2 separate regions of the Homo sapiens genome follow, and region 2 is linked to region 1. Evidence: promoter capture Hi-C in human tissues and cell types (Jung and others, 2019). All regions are on one chromosome and are shown on one strand. The core of a region is centred on a gene start or on the middle of the fragment in contact, and the rest is flanking DNA. Distances in the headings are between cores, read along the strand shown.

The links. Contacts are between HindIII fragments. The study calls those that stand out against the background at their distance.
Region 2: a contact is called between the fragment with the promoter of TOMM40 here and a fragment that was not itself captured in region 1, in 1 of the 25 tissues and cell types used here (spleen).

Annotation. Positions count from the first base shown.
Region 1 is chr19:45,099,567-45,106,685 of GRCh38, reverse strand. All of the region lies in intron 1 of PPP1R37 (protein phosphatase 1 regulatory subunit 37), which reads right to left. Among named protein-coding and RNA genes, the nearest start is that of PPP1R37, 9.9 kb to the right of the region's middle. RefSeq lists enhancers at 892-1,481, 6,194-6,781. The HindIII fragment of the contact is 9,683 bases long and covers 1-7,119 here.
Region 2 is chr19:44,885,815-44,893,049 of GRCh38, reverse strand. TOMM40 (translocase of outer mitochondrial membrane 40) reads right to left here and starts at 1,796. Exons shown (of 9, transcript NM_001128917.2): 1 at 1,361-1,796; 2 at 590-657; 3 at 121-213. The coding sequence starts at 1,634. NECTIN2 (nectin cell adhesion molecule 2) reads right to left here. Exons shown (of 9, transcript NM_001042724.2): 7 at 7,050-7,113; 8 at 6,831-6,917; 9 at 3,827-4,940. The coding sequence ends at 4,671. RefSeq lists a silencer at 1,460-2,099 and enhancers at 2,410-2,569, 2,739-3,240, 6,981-7,235. The HindIII fragment of the contact is 8,270 bases long and covers 1-5,080 here.

The sequences.
Region 1 (7,119 bases), core at 2,470-4,969:
CTTGTGCCTGTGGTTCTAGCTAATCTGGAGGCTGAGGCAAGAGGATCACTTGAGCCTGGGAGGTGGAGGCTGCAGTGAGCTAGGATTGCACTACTGCACTCCAGCCTGGGCGACAGAGGAAGACCTCATCTCAAAACAAACAGGCCAGGCGCGGCGGCTCACGCCTGTAATCCCAGAGCTTTGGGAGGCCGAGGCGGGTGGATCATTTGAGGTCAGGAGTTCGAGATCAGCCCAGCCAACATGGTGAAACCCTGTCTCTACTAAAAATACAAAAAAATTAGCTGGGCATGGTGGCGCATGCCTATAATCCCAGCTACTTGGGAGGCTGAGGCAGGAGAATCGCTTAAACTTGGGAGGCAAAGGTTTCAGTAAGCCAAGATCCTGCCACTGTACTCCAGCCTGGGCAACAAGAGCGAAACTCCATCTCAAAAAAAAAACAAAAACAAAAACAAAACAGCTGGAGGGGTGGCCGAGGAGAGCAGCAGGAGCCTGGACCCAAGTGCCAGGGCATCCTTGGGTAAGTGCCGCCCCTCTCTGGTTACCCCTCTACCCCTGAGATGAGGAAGGGGCTGGTGCCAGCCCTGGATTCTTTTGACTGCACTGGAAGGCAGTAAGCACAAACACCTGGACCTAACAGCTGGTGGGAGGACATTCAGTCAGATGGCCCCGCCTGTTGGTGTCTGCTCCACCCCAGGACCAGACAGGATCAGGCCACTGTCAGACTTGGGCACTCTAAGCCAGGCTCCATGAGGGCGCTGTCCCTGGGCTCTGCCAGCAACAGCCCCAACTCCATTTTAATGGAACAACATTTACTGAACACCTGCTCTGTGCCTGGAGCTGTGCAGGAGACACAGCAGGGACCGAGAAAGCCCCGGGCCTGACCCCCTGGGACTTGTCCAGCAGGGAACACAGGTCCAGGCACAGCAAGGAAGGCAGCCCTCCAGGGAAACGGAACACTGACTGTTCATTGTGATCATAGTAGGCAGAACCGGGCCGGGAATCAAGGATCCCAAGCCCGTGACAGAAGGGGATTACAGAACACAGAGTGAGAACGGAGTCATGGAAGCTTGGCTGGGTGGCCGGTCGCCCCTGACACCTGTGACACATGGGTCACAGGGAATGGGGAATTAGGTCACCTGCCACAAAGGTACACGGCAGATCAATTATCAGAACCTTGCCTGCCACCCCGTGACAGGGAGGAGGTCCTGGGATCCAATCACTCCCTAAATGGTGCGGTGTCCTACATGGAGAGATGGGAAACACTGACGCGCAGTGGGAAAGGACCCCGGGCACCATCCTGCCCCACAGAGAGGGCAAGCATCCTGGCCTATGACCCCCAGCAAGTCAACAGCAAAGACGGGCCTGTTTGCCAGTCCTGCGCTGCCATTCTCACCAGGCTGGCGGGGGGATACCAGAGGCAGGCTTTGTACTCCCCTCCCTAAAGCTCCTCCTCCTCTCTGCCCACTTCCTTTTCTGGACCAGGGACTATGCTAGGGTAGGGACTGTCTGAGCTGCTCATGGCAAGGACTAAGACCCAGCATTGCATGCCACTTCCTTCTCCACCTGCCATATTGCGCTCCTGCCCAGAGCCAGGCCCAGTGCCACGTGGTCTGGGGCACTGGGGAATACAGTGGCACCAAACCCAACCCACCACTGCCTAGTGATGCTTCCAGTCCAGGGCAAGAGTATCAGCAGGCCCGCAGATAAGCAGATCGCTGGCCACCTGACGGGGAGCCCATTAGGAGGGCCAGGAAGGAAGGGTTTGCTGGCACCTGAAAGATTAGTGAGAGCCACCTGTGTGCGTAGGTGGGGCCGGTCTTCCAGGACAGGATGTGGGGAGCTGCCTGCGTGTTCTAGGACTGAAAGGAAGCCACGATGGCTTGAACCCAGCAAGAGCATGGCAAGGTGATCTCGGTCGTGGCCGGCGATGGTGGCAAGAGCCAGGTTATACCTGGGCTTCCTAACCTGTTGCAGGGACACTAGATCAGAGGGAAAGGCAGCAGGGAGGTCACAAGTGTGATGTGAAACAGGAATAGCAAAGTCTGCTTTTTCAAGAATGCTGTGGCTGCTAGGTGGGGAGCGGGTTGGAGAGGGAGCAGGAGAGCCATTGGGAGGCCCCTCCACCTGGCATGGCAGGGACAGCAAAGTGGAGGCAAAACAGGCGCTGGTTGGCAAGGAATGAAGGAATGAATGCAGGAAAAAAGGACTCAGTGAACGAAATCTTCCTTCCCCACACCCCATGCTCCCTGACTGTCCTGAGCCCCAGTGCCTGGGTTACAAAGGCTTTGCGGCACCCGGCCTGGGTGCTCATAAGCAACCCCACTTTGCCCGGAGTCCTTAAGGTTCCTGGAGGCGTTCAGTGGTTCCACCCCTCCCAGGAGCCAGATGGACAGGATGCAGCCCTCTGCAGCACTGGTCCAGGGAGGGGAGATGGGCCCGAACAAATAACAACAGAGCGAGGAGGCGCCATGGGAACCCAGACGAGCGGAGCAGAGCTTTGTCCGGGGATTAGAGAAGGCCTTGCCCAGAAGGCAGCACGGGAGGGGGAGTTGGTCAGGAAGGGCAGGGGACTATCGAGGGGTGTGCTGGGCAAAGGCGCCTGCGTCTAGGCGTGGGAGGGGTAACGGGAATTGGTCAGGAAGGGCAGGGGACTAGCGAGGGGCGTGCTAGGCAGAGGCGCCTGTGTCTAGGAGGCTGGGCGTTCTGTGGGAAAGGCCTCCCACACCAGGCCCACGGGTGTGGACTTTGTCCTGTAGTTACAGTGGAGCCCTGGGGGCTTTCTGAAACAGGACAGAGGATCAGAACCATTCAAGCTGCCGGGCTATAACTCAGCTCCTCCTCTACTACCTGTGTGGCCTTGGCACCTCTGTGAGCCTGTTTCCTCCTCCAAGATTAACGATGCATGTAAAGAGCTTAGCCCTGTTAAGCGCTCCATAAATGGGAGCTTTGAGTACCATCACCTCCATCACCACCACCAGGAGGCATGACCCCTGCAGAGAGTCACTTCCCTGCGGCTCGCTTTCACCTTTTGGCAGCCCCACTCTCCCACCCTCCCTCCCTGTTGTCCTGGGGAACCAAGCGAGTTCAGCTGTGACAGTGCTTTGCTTTGCAAAAGGGAAGACTGCACAGGACGCGAGCAGTTCTCCACTACATCGCTGACAGCAGCTGGTGAGAGCCTCGGAGACCGTGGAGAGAGGGAGGGGTGGGTGTGAAGGTGGCACACGAGTCCGACCCCGGCGGGTCCCAAGCGCCAGCTTGCTAGAGGAGCCCGCCCACCTAACCAGGGAACACATTCCCAGCTGGAACCCAACCAGCCCTGAGGGGAGCATCCGACTGCAGGGCTCCCGACCCAGGCTTCCGCTGCGAAGTGAGATGGGCGCTGGGCAAGTCACATGAGCTGTGCGGATGTCAGCAGACACTTCCAAACCTCCACCCCCACCTTGAGGCAACCGCTCAGTACCAGCTGCCTAGAGGAAGGGAAGGGGTGAGAACAACTTCTGAGTGCCTACTGTGTACCTCCATCCACCACCAATTCATCCAGTGTGAGACCCTGCGGAGGGCCAGGCACCATGGAGGGTGCTGGGGACACAGGTGAGCCAAGACAAAGATGGGTCCTGCCTTCATGGACCTTCCTACTTAATGTACGAAACATAGCCAAGCATGACGGATCTCTCGAATTCCTTTTGGCACCCAGCCTCTGAACCACCTTCTTGCAATTAGGGAAGCCCCTCCACATCTCCCACCTCCTCTTAGCTGAAACAGCAGACCCCAGCCTCCTGTGTGGCTCCAGCCCAGGAGCCTGACGTGGGCTCAGCCCTGGAGGTGCTGTGGCGGCTATGTAACAGGAGCGGCATCAGCTCCACACTTGATGCAGGGTGTGCTCCTGCTGGCGTGGGCCCCAGGCCTGGCTCTCTGGTCTTCCCAGAGAGTCTAAAAACTTTGAGAGAGTCCTCATCTGGCAAAATGGCTTCACAAATGGGGAAAGTGGTCCAGGGAGGTCAAGGGACTTGCCCAAGGCCACACAGCCCAAGTGTGGAGGAGCCGAAATCACACTCAGGCAGATGATCCTACCCGCTGGTCATCTAGCCCCACCTGCCTAACCCTTACAGCCGGGGGAGGCAGGAACCAGTCAAGTTCAAGGCAGTGACCACCTCACTCAACTTTCCCATGTCCTCATGAGCGCCTGCAACAGCCAGCTACTGTTCCAGCTGCTTTCCAAGTAGAGGCTAATTTAATCCTCAATCCCCATACAAATGGGGACACTGAGGCAAAGAAGCTGGGTGATTTGCCCAAGGGCAGAGCTGGGACTGGCACCCAGGGGGCTCCCGTGCTGCCTCTCAGGTTACTGCCATTTCACAAACATGGAACGAGGCCCGCTGCGGGCTCCAGAGTCTCCTCCTGGAACCCTTGGGCCAGACGTGTTTTAGAATCAGAATTTTCTGGATTTTATAAGACTGATCAGACACCGATATTGCGCTAAGCCACCAGAGGGGTTTGGGATGGTCTGTAGAGTTTTCTGGATCTGGGTACTGTGAGACCTGAAGGGACTGTGGAGGTGAAGTCACTGGAGAGGTCACCGGACTTCACAGCCCACACGCCTCCCACAGCCCATGCAGGGGCAGGATGTCCCAAGCAGGCCAAGGACACGCTGGCTGGGGGAGCACGAGGGAAGGGACTCAGATCCAAGGAGAGAAGGGAAGGGGAATAACAGTCACCTCAGAGGTGCTATGGGAAACAGTGGCATCGGCAAACCTGCTGGTGGAGGGGAGGACTCAGAGGAATCTGATGAAGAAGTCAATGAAGTCAAGTGTCAGCTATCAGCCAATATGAGGCTACGCCAAGCCTACAGCCTCCGGGCTCCTGGCTCACGGCCCCTCCCTGGCCTCCCTGTCTCAGTCTCACCCTATTCATGTCACCTCCACACAGGATTCTGTTAAAAACACCCACCATGCCCCTCCTTTTTCTTTTGAGACAGGGTCTCACTCTGTCACATAGGCTGGAGGGCAGTGGTGTGATCACAGCTCACTAAAGCCTCGACCTCCTGGACTCAAGTGATCCTTCCACCTCAGCCTCCTGAGTAGCTGGGACTATAGGCACATGCCACCATGCCCGGCTGATTTTTGTATTTTTTGTAGAGACAAGGTCTCGTCATGTTGCCAAGGCTGGTCTTAAACTCCTGGGCTTAAGTGATCTTCCCGCCTGGAGCTCCTGAAGTGCTGGGATGACAGGCGTGAGCCCCCCATGCCCAGCCCAGGCCCCTTCTTAAGCCCTCTGGGGCTCCCTGCTAGCACAGCCCATAAGGCCCCACACAGCAGTCTCTCCTGCCTCCTCCAGCCTCACCTCTGACCAGCCTGCCTCTACCTCAACTAAGTCTGGCTTTTTTCTGTTCTTCAGACATACCAGGCTGGTTCTCTCTGCCTTCCACCCCTGGTGCACTCCTCCCACTGCTCCTCACCTGGCTTACTGCTGGATTTCCTTGGTGACGTCCTTTCTAGGAAGCTGCCTCTGCCCTGCCCTCCTGCACACCCTGTGGACCCTCCCTAATCTGAGTCCTCAGAAGCCTGGTTTGCTGAGAATTCTTTACTGTGTGTCTCCCTCACTTGACTGTGACCCCCACAGAAGCATGGACTGGGCCTGTCTTCTGCCCTGACTCGTAACACGTGGCACGGCCACACCATGCTGAATGCATGACTGGTTACGGGGTCACCAAGTCACTCACGCAGCAAGAATATATTGAGCGCCTATCACATACCAGACACTGAGTAGCACAGGAAGAACACGTCCCAGAGGCCAAGGGTCAGAACAGCAGGCAATGCTGAGGACAGAGGAGCAGCACAAATCTCCAGGGACTCAAGCTGTCCACGAACCACAGTGACCCCCTCCTGCGTGCCCACCAAGGCTGGGCCCTTACCCCACCTGTTTCTGTTTCTCCTCCCTGCCACAACACCGCAAAGCCAGCACTGTTGCCTCTATTTTATAAACGATTCTGGGTTATAGATGAAGAGACCGTATGGCACGTTGCACCGAATGCGTCCAAGCACTCAGCCGCCGCACAGGGGTTATTACTGCGCAGGCTTCGGCGCCAGGCTGGCTGCCTGGATTTGAATCCCAGCTCCACCACTTACCCACTGTGTGACCTCAGGAAAATTACTTTACCTCTATGGGCTCCATTTCCTCATCTACAAATTGGGGCAAACGGCACCTACCTCCTGGGGTGGCTGTGATATCTAAATGCGATAATACACAAAAGGCACTGAGACCAGTGCCTGGTACAGGCACATGGAAGGCAATGACTGGTGATGACTAAGGTCAGCCAGAAGGCAAGAATTTAACCCACCTGCCCCCATGCCCTACTGCAGCAGGTGGCCGGCTCAGCTTGAATTTCTGCAGTATTTCAATGCTCACCTGTTAATTTGCTCCAAAAAAGGCTTTGAGGTCAATGCCAGCCACCCCTGAACTGAGGTCTGAAGGCAGGCTTGGGACTGAGTGATGGATGGCGGAGCAAAGCACACAGACAGCCAAGCGAGGTTGTCAGAACCACCTGGGGAGCTTTTGTAAAAACAGGTTTCTGGCCTCCGTGCTCAGTGACTGCTCCAGCTGCAGTCCGTCCAACACAGGGCATTTGGCCCCACGGTTCTTAATCCTCTTGGAGTCGGATGCCTGTGAAGGTTCGCAGAGCCCCAGTACTCGCTCCCAGAAACAAGTGCACACGCACTCCCGCTGACGCACTGAAGGCTGGTTACCGAGTGCCAGCTGGGGGCCAGCTTCGCGTGCTCTTCCGGGAGTCAGAATGGGTGCTAAAGCCTGTCTGTAGGTCCCTGAGAAAGAGTCCTCGTCCTGGCACCAACTGGATTAACTACCACAAAAAAAGTTTCCTGTAAATCCCACCATGGGGTGTTTGATCCCAGGAAAACACCCCAGTCCTTCGGACATGTGTCCCGTGCCCGAGCCCTCCTGTGTGCTAGACTAGGGTCACAGAGGTGACTCATACACAGTCTTTGCCCTTGAAGGGGGAAATAGATGCGAGCACAGATAATCACAGGCACAAAGAATCAGGCGGCCCAACTGCATGTACAGGCACGGAGAGCGGCGAGTCACAGTGTGCAAAGGGCCTGGGAG
Region 2 (7,235 bases), core at 547-3,046, 210 kb after region 1:
TCCCCATCTCCAGGCTCTCGGTAGCTGTGACCTTTTCCTGATGAGGCCGTCTTAGCTTGACATTTGGCTACAAATTTGTTATTAGAAGGATACAATGAATGGATGAAAAAGGAAGCTCACCTCTGTGGGACTCAGCTGCTTTGTCCCCACATATGTGACCCCGAAGTGGTAGTTGGACTCCCCGATTGTGCTGAGGGCTACTGTGTGGTTGACCTGGAAGGAAAGCGAGAGCTGTGACGATACTGGACAGATAGGCTTGCCCACTGAAGAGGGCAAGGACAAGGTCTCTGGGCTGGGCAGGGGATGAAGACTGGGAGGCACGGCCTGACTAAGAGACTCAGAGAAAGGAGGTGCTGCCGGTAGGCCCACAGACCTGTTCCTTCACTCCAGCCTAGCTGCTATGGGGAGACAGTACCTCTGGATTCTAGGTCCCCAAACTGAGTAGTCAGTCTGGCACTATATCTCCGAGTCTTTTCAAGTATCAGGGAGCCCAGCTCTTGAGGGAGGAGTAATTGGGCCGAGTGTGCAGATGCAGGGAGGGGGACGGCGGGGACGATCTCTGGTGGGTAAGGACACCAGGAAGGCTCACCTGAAAATGGTTACTCAACCCTTTGTTGACTGTGAGCTTGACACCCTCCATCTGAATGGGAAACAGCTCTGGAGAAGAGAAACGCTGTCACACTCCACTCCAACCCCACACCAACTCTCATCTCTTCCTTCCCTACCACCCCCAGCTCTCTCCAGAGACCCACAGCAGAACATCTCACAAAGGATTCCACCTGTAAAGAGGCAGTACAGCCTAGTTAGACAGGGCCAGGGCCTTTGCTTGCTCAAATCTCACTGCCACCAAGCTGAGCAACTTTAGGTCAAACTCATCATCTGAAAGATGGGACCCTCACCACACAGAATTGTCCCAAGGATCTAATGAGTTAACGTATAATGAACACCAGAACAGAACTCCATAAATCTCCACCACTACTACTACTCTAATTGCTCCAGGCTGGGATCCGGAGGCTTTGGGTCCCATACCCAAGGAACCTCGCTGACACCTTGCTGACACCGTGACCTTGGGCCTCAGTTGCCTTCCCGATCACAAGAGAAGTCTGGCTTGGCTGATCCCGGGGCTCCTCAGGTCCCTAAAGGCTTTTCTCTACTGCTATGACATTCCATCCCGTTTCCAGCATTTGATTCCATCATTCTAAGCCCCAAGTCCAACGTTCCACCATTCGATCCCAACATCACCTCCTAGTGCTGTTAAATAATTCCAATGGTGCGCGCCAAATCCCAGAGTCCCCAGTGTCCTCCCCCTTCCCCCGAGATCCAGGCCATCGCAGCCCAGCGGGGGCCCCTCGCCCCTCACCCTTGCACTTCCGGTGGCACTCCTCGAATGTGCCCGGGTTGGGCAGGCAGCCGCAGGCCCCATCCTCGGCGGCCCCTGAGGCGCTGGCGGTTGCAGCCCCGGGGGTCCGTTCCGAACTTCGACTCGTACTGGTGCCGGCGCCCAGGCTGCCTCCCAGCGGCGGCAGCGTGAAGCCCGGCGGCGAGGGCGGAGGTGGCGGCAGCCCCACGAGGGCCGGCGCAGGCGGCGGTGGCGGCCCTGCGGGCGGCGAGCTGGCAGCCAACACGTTCCCCATGGTCGCCTGCTAGGGGAGAGGTCAGAGGGCAGAGGTCAGGGCCCGCGCGCCCCCGACTCAGCCCCAGCAAATCCGCACCCGGCTCCGGCCCCGGTTCTCACTGGCGGCGGCGCCTGCTCCCGGCCTGGGCTCCGCTCCCACCCCGTGCGCCACGCGCAACCGAACCCGCTGCCGCCGCCGCCACCACCGTCGCCCCGCCCCACCTAGCCCATTGGTTTAGTGTGCCCTGAGGCCCGCCCACCAGCGTCAAGACTCGGTCTTCCCATTGGACTTGTGCATAAAGTCCCGCCCACTTTCCCTGAAATGTCCTTTTGTATTGGTTCTCACTCGCAGGGTAGCCACGGCGCCCCTCCCACCCTTCCCATTGGCTCGCAGCGCCTGCGCCTATTGGCTCGCGTCGCCGCGGGTTCCGGTGCTAACCCGCCATTGGTCTGTGCTGAGCATTTTGCCACGCCCGCTGAGGCATCGCCCCGCCTCTCTCCTGGAGGAGGCCCTCTTTTGATTCCGCCCCGCGGCGAGGTTGCTGTGATAATTGGTCGGCTTTGACCCTTGCAGCATTTTGATTGGCTCCAGCGTGTACGGGGTCGACCTTGGTGGCGTATCAGCTTGGTACTCTCATTGGCTAACGTTCCAGGGTCGAAGGACAGGTAAAGGTGGGTTGCGCGGCAGAGGCGGCTAGGCAGCAAGGTCAGGCCTCGCGTCCCACCAGGCACCGCGGCAGCCGGGCCCCCACCCCACCTCTGGTTCGGAGTAGCCGACCTAAAACCGGAAGTGCTGGCCCTTCCCAGAGTGCCTCGGGAGAATTCTAATCTGTTCTGCGAACCCTGCGCTGCTCCTCGTTACCCACAATGCCCTCATCACCTCTTAGCGAAACAGTTGCCTTAGACCCACCCCTTTCGTTACCCATCATGCCTCTTGTTCCTCGCGTCACTGCGGCTTCTATCTTTGGCCCATTCATTCCTCTCCCATTACCCATCATGCCTCTGCCCCATTCATTTGAGCTTCATTGCCCAGACTACTTTTAGCTCCAGCCTGCCTGCTCACTTTCGTCGTTCTTCCGGCCCTTCTCTAATTAGCCATCATGTTTTGGATCCATGAACTCCTGTCCGTTACCTCCCTTGCCCCCGGTCCCTATTTTTCCATTATTCATCACTCTGCCTCTGGCCCATTCATTCAGGTTTATTATCCGTCATGCCTTGGGCTCCTATTACAACATTATTCATGATTTTGCCTTTAGTCTACTTTTACTTGCCGTTTATTCATTAAACTTGAGCCTCTTATACTTTCGTTACTGCTTTTTTAATTTTTATTTTTTTAAAGACAAGGTTGGACTCTGTCACTCAGGCTGGAGTGCAGTGGCGCCATCATAGCTTACTGCAGCCTTGAACTTCTGGCCTCAATCGATCCTCCTACCTCAGCCTCCAGAGTAGCTGAACTACAGGTGCGTGCCACCACGCCCGGCTAACTTTCGTAGAGGCGGGGTCTCACTGTGTTTCCCAGGCTGGTCTCTTAACTCCTGGACTCAGTCGAGCTTCCCGCCTCAGTTTCCCGAAGTGCTGGAATTACAGGAATGAGCCACTGCATCTGGCCAATTGCTATTTTTATCTTTGTCCCATTCATCATACTGCTGTTGCAATTATGAATGTTCATTAAACAGCATGCCCTGGACCCCTCCCCATTCCATTACTCAACATTCTGTTTTTAGGGCTGGGCGCAGTGGCTCACGCCTGTAATCCCAGCACTTTGGGAGGCCGAGACGGGTGGATCACGAGGTCAGGAGATCGAGACCATCTTGGCTAACGCGGTGAAACCCCGTCTCTACTAAAAATACAAAAAATAAGCCGGGCGTGGTGGTGGGCGCCTGTAGTCCCAGCTACTCGGGAGGCTGAGGCAGAGGAATGGCGTTAACTCAGAAGGTGGAGCTTGCAGTGAGCCGAGATCATGCCACTGCACTCCAGCCTGGGCGACAGAGCGAGACTCCGCCTCAAAAAAAAAAAAAATTTTGTTTTTGATTGATACATTTTTGCTCATTACTCTCTCAATTCTTATTTTGTATCTTTGGTCCCTTTGTTTTTGTCTTTAACTCTCTTGACCCCAGTTCACTGATTCTCTCAAGCCCTTAGACTCCTTCCTCATTCCCCTTCATGTCTCACCCCATCCCCTTCACATCCCACAGAAAAGGCAAGACCTGGTCAAAGTATAAATTCATATTTTGTAGGAAATGTAGTTTACAAAACAGTATCAATTGCTACCCCCAATTCAGATGACCCACTTTCCCCGGAAGGGGGATGTTTAGGTCCTATTCCACTGGGCAAGGGTAAAATGATTCAGTAGTCTTCCAGGTTAACAGTAAATTCTTCTCCCAAGGCTGGGGCCATCAAGGCACAGTCTGTATGAGGCTCACCCTGTCTGACCCTAGGCTGGGGCTGCTTGCTTGGTAGGCAGGAATTGGGGTGGGGGTGGGGGCTCAGGGAAGGGTCTGGACCCTGAGACTTCTGCTTACAGGAGGGTGCTGGGAAAACCCTGCCTTGGGCTGGGGAATCCCCTCTTTCCCACCTTTGGGGAACAGGGTGGGGAGGGGGTAAGTGGGACCCTGCTGCCTGGAGGGCTCAGGTCTGAGCAGCAGGGAGCCCTCAGCGCCCACTCCAGCAGACCTATTGGGAATTTACTACCTGAAGACAAATTATAGGTCTAGGGTCTTCTTTGTGATTTTGGGGGAGTCGAGGCATTGGGGGGTGAGAGGTATGGTCTAAGGTCACAGTCTGGGAGAGGAGTCCTTGGGATCAGAGGTTGTGCAGAAGCACCTTCCCCACCTCCTGCCTCATGAGATAAGGTTGCCAGGATTCCATTATCACGGTGAATTTCTCTGGGCTCATGGGTTAGGGGTCATAGTGGAGCCACCAAGGTAGACATCACAAATGGAATGCATATGTGTTAACTGACAGTGGCCTGGCCAGAGGTCAGGGGGCACTAGATCCTTGGCAAGAAAGCTAAGGGATCAACAGGTGAGATGTGAGACGCCAGGCGCATGGCAGCTCACACATACATGGCCCGGGACATGACAAAGCCTTTGCCCTGGTAGGAATCAGAGGGGCTGCTATAGGACAGAGCATCATAGATGGGGTTGATCTTGTCCAGATACTCTTCCTCCTCCTCCCCCTCCTCATCCTCTAGATCCAGGGAAACGTCTTCCACAGCAGGTGGCCCTGGAGGCACCGGGATGGGGGACCCCAGGCTTGTGGCTCCAGGGTGCAAGGGTCCTGACCGTTCTTCCAAGGTGGGCAGCTCATGGTATCGAGGCATTTCCTGGAGGTAGAGAGAGGACAGGAACTCAAGATCACTTCCTACGCACGACACAGATTACCAATCTGCTCTTGACCCCAAAATCCTGACCGCTCTCTCCCCATGCCAACAAGATGCCACCTCACTCCTTGTCCCCTGAGGCCATATTGCACTGGGACATTCATTCAGCCCTTCCTTAACCCAAAGCCCAGCTCGTGCAACTCACCCTGTTAATCCTGGGACTCACTTTTGACACTCGATCTCTGCAAATCTTTCCCCATGAACCTTTCACCTCAGTCTTGACCTCAAATACTTAACCTTGGGCTCTAAACAGTCCTTTGAACCTTGAGCGCAACCTCAGTGTCTGACCCCTGACCTCCAGTAGACCACTGAGGGGAGTGACTTGATTTGTCTTGTCCCAGCTTCAGGCACAGTATCCAGCAAATGTAGATAATCAATTTTCTTTCATTCTGTTTTTTTTTGTTGTTGAGACGGAGTTTTGCTCTTGTCTCCCAGGCTGTTGTGCAATGGTGCAATCTGGGCTCACTGCAACCTCTGCCTCCCGGGTCCAAGCGATTCTCCTGCCTCAGCCTCCCAAGTAGCTGGGATTACAGGCGCCCGCCACCACGCCCAGCTAATTTTTGTAATTTTTAGTAGAGACAGGGTTTCACCATGTTGGCCAGGCTGGTCTTGGAACTCCTGACCTCAGGTGATCCACCTGCCTTGGCCTCCCAAAGTGCTGGGATTACAGGCGTGAGCAACCGCACCCGGCCTTTTTCTTTTTTGAGACGGAGTCTTGCTCTGTTGCCTAGGCTGGAGTGCAGTGGCGTGGTCTCAGCTCATTGCAACTTCTGCCTCCTGGGTCCAAGCGATTCTCCTGCTTCAGCCTCCTGAATAGCTGGGATTACAGGAGCATGTCACCCATGCCTGGCTTATTTTTGTTTTTAGTAGAGAAGGGGTTTCACCTTGTTAGCCAGGGTGGTCTGGAACTCCTGACGTCAGGTGATCTGCCCGTCTCAGCCTCCCAAAGTGCTGGGATTACAGGTGTGAGCCACCATGCCTGACCAGATAATCAATTTTCATTGACCTAATGACTTTTCCTCTTTTTTTTTTTTTTTGAGATAGGGTCTCACCCTGATGCCCAGGCTGGAGTGTAGTGGCACAGCCCCAACCACCTGGGCTTAAGCAATCCGCCCACCTCAGCCTACAGGCATTTGCCACCACATCCAGGTAAATTCAGTATTTTTGTAGACGCAAAATGTTGCTGGGTAGCCCATGTTGCCCACGCTGGTCTCGAGCTCCTAGGCTCAAGGGGTCCAGCTACCTTGGCCTCCCAAAGTACTGGGATTATAGACCAGAGCCACCATGCCCGGCCCAGGTGATTTTATTTATTTGGTTTTATTTATTTTTTTGAGACGGAATCTTGCTCTGTTGCCCAGGCTGGAGTGCAGTGGTGTGATCTTAGCTCACTGTAACCTCGGCCTCCTGGGTTCAGGCGATTCTTCCTCCTCAGCGCCCCGGGTAGCTAAGATTACAGGCTCGCACCACCACACCCAACTAATTTTTTGTGTTTTGAGTAGAGACGGGGTTTCACCATGTTGCACAGGCTGGTCTCGAACTCCTGACCCCAAGTGATCCTCCTGCCTTGGCCTCCCAAAGTGCTGGGATTATAGGCGTGAGCCACCGTGCCCAGCCCCCAAGTGACTTTAAATTCTAACCTTGTGACCTTGGGCCTTTTCACCCCTGACCTCCCCCATGGAATCCTGAACACATCTCAATGCATTAAGCACCAACCGGGGACACACCCTTGACCTTGAGTTATGACCTTTAGTCTTTGACCTCTTTTGCCAGGCCTGACCCCTGGCCCTTCAACCCAGACCCCCAACCCACCTTTGTCTTCCCATGAGCTCCTACCTGCTCAGTGCATGAGGCGCCAGCATCAAAGTAGGGGGTCTTGAGTGGGCTGTGCTCCGAGGCCCCCAGAGTGAAGAGCTGGGAGGGCTGTAGTGGGAGAGGGGCGGGGAGGTCAGGAACTGCCCCCACCACCCAGCCAGCTTCTCCCTGCCAGGCCCCTCCCAGCCCTGGGGTGGGTGTGGAGGTGGGGATAGCTTGGGCTCCAGGGAAAGTGCTCACCATCTCCTGTGCCTCCAGCTTCGCTTTTGGGGTCGGTGGCTTGTAGGAGGGAGGTCCCTCCAGGCTGTGGGGTAGGAGGTAGGACAAGTGGAGATTAAGACCCAGGCATCCCTCTGACTCCGGGGTTATGGCACATGCTGTTCCCTCTACCTGGGTCTCCCTTTCCCCTGCCCCCTTTTCTTGCCT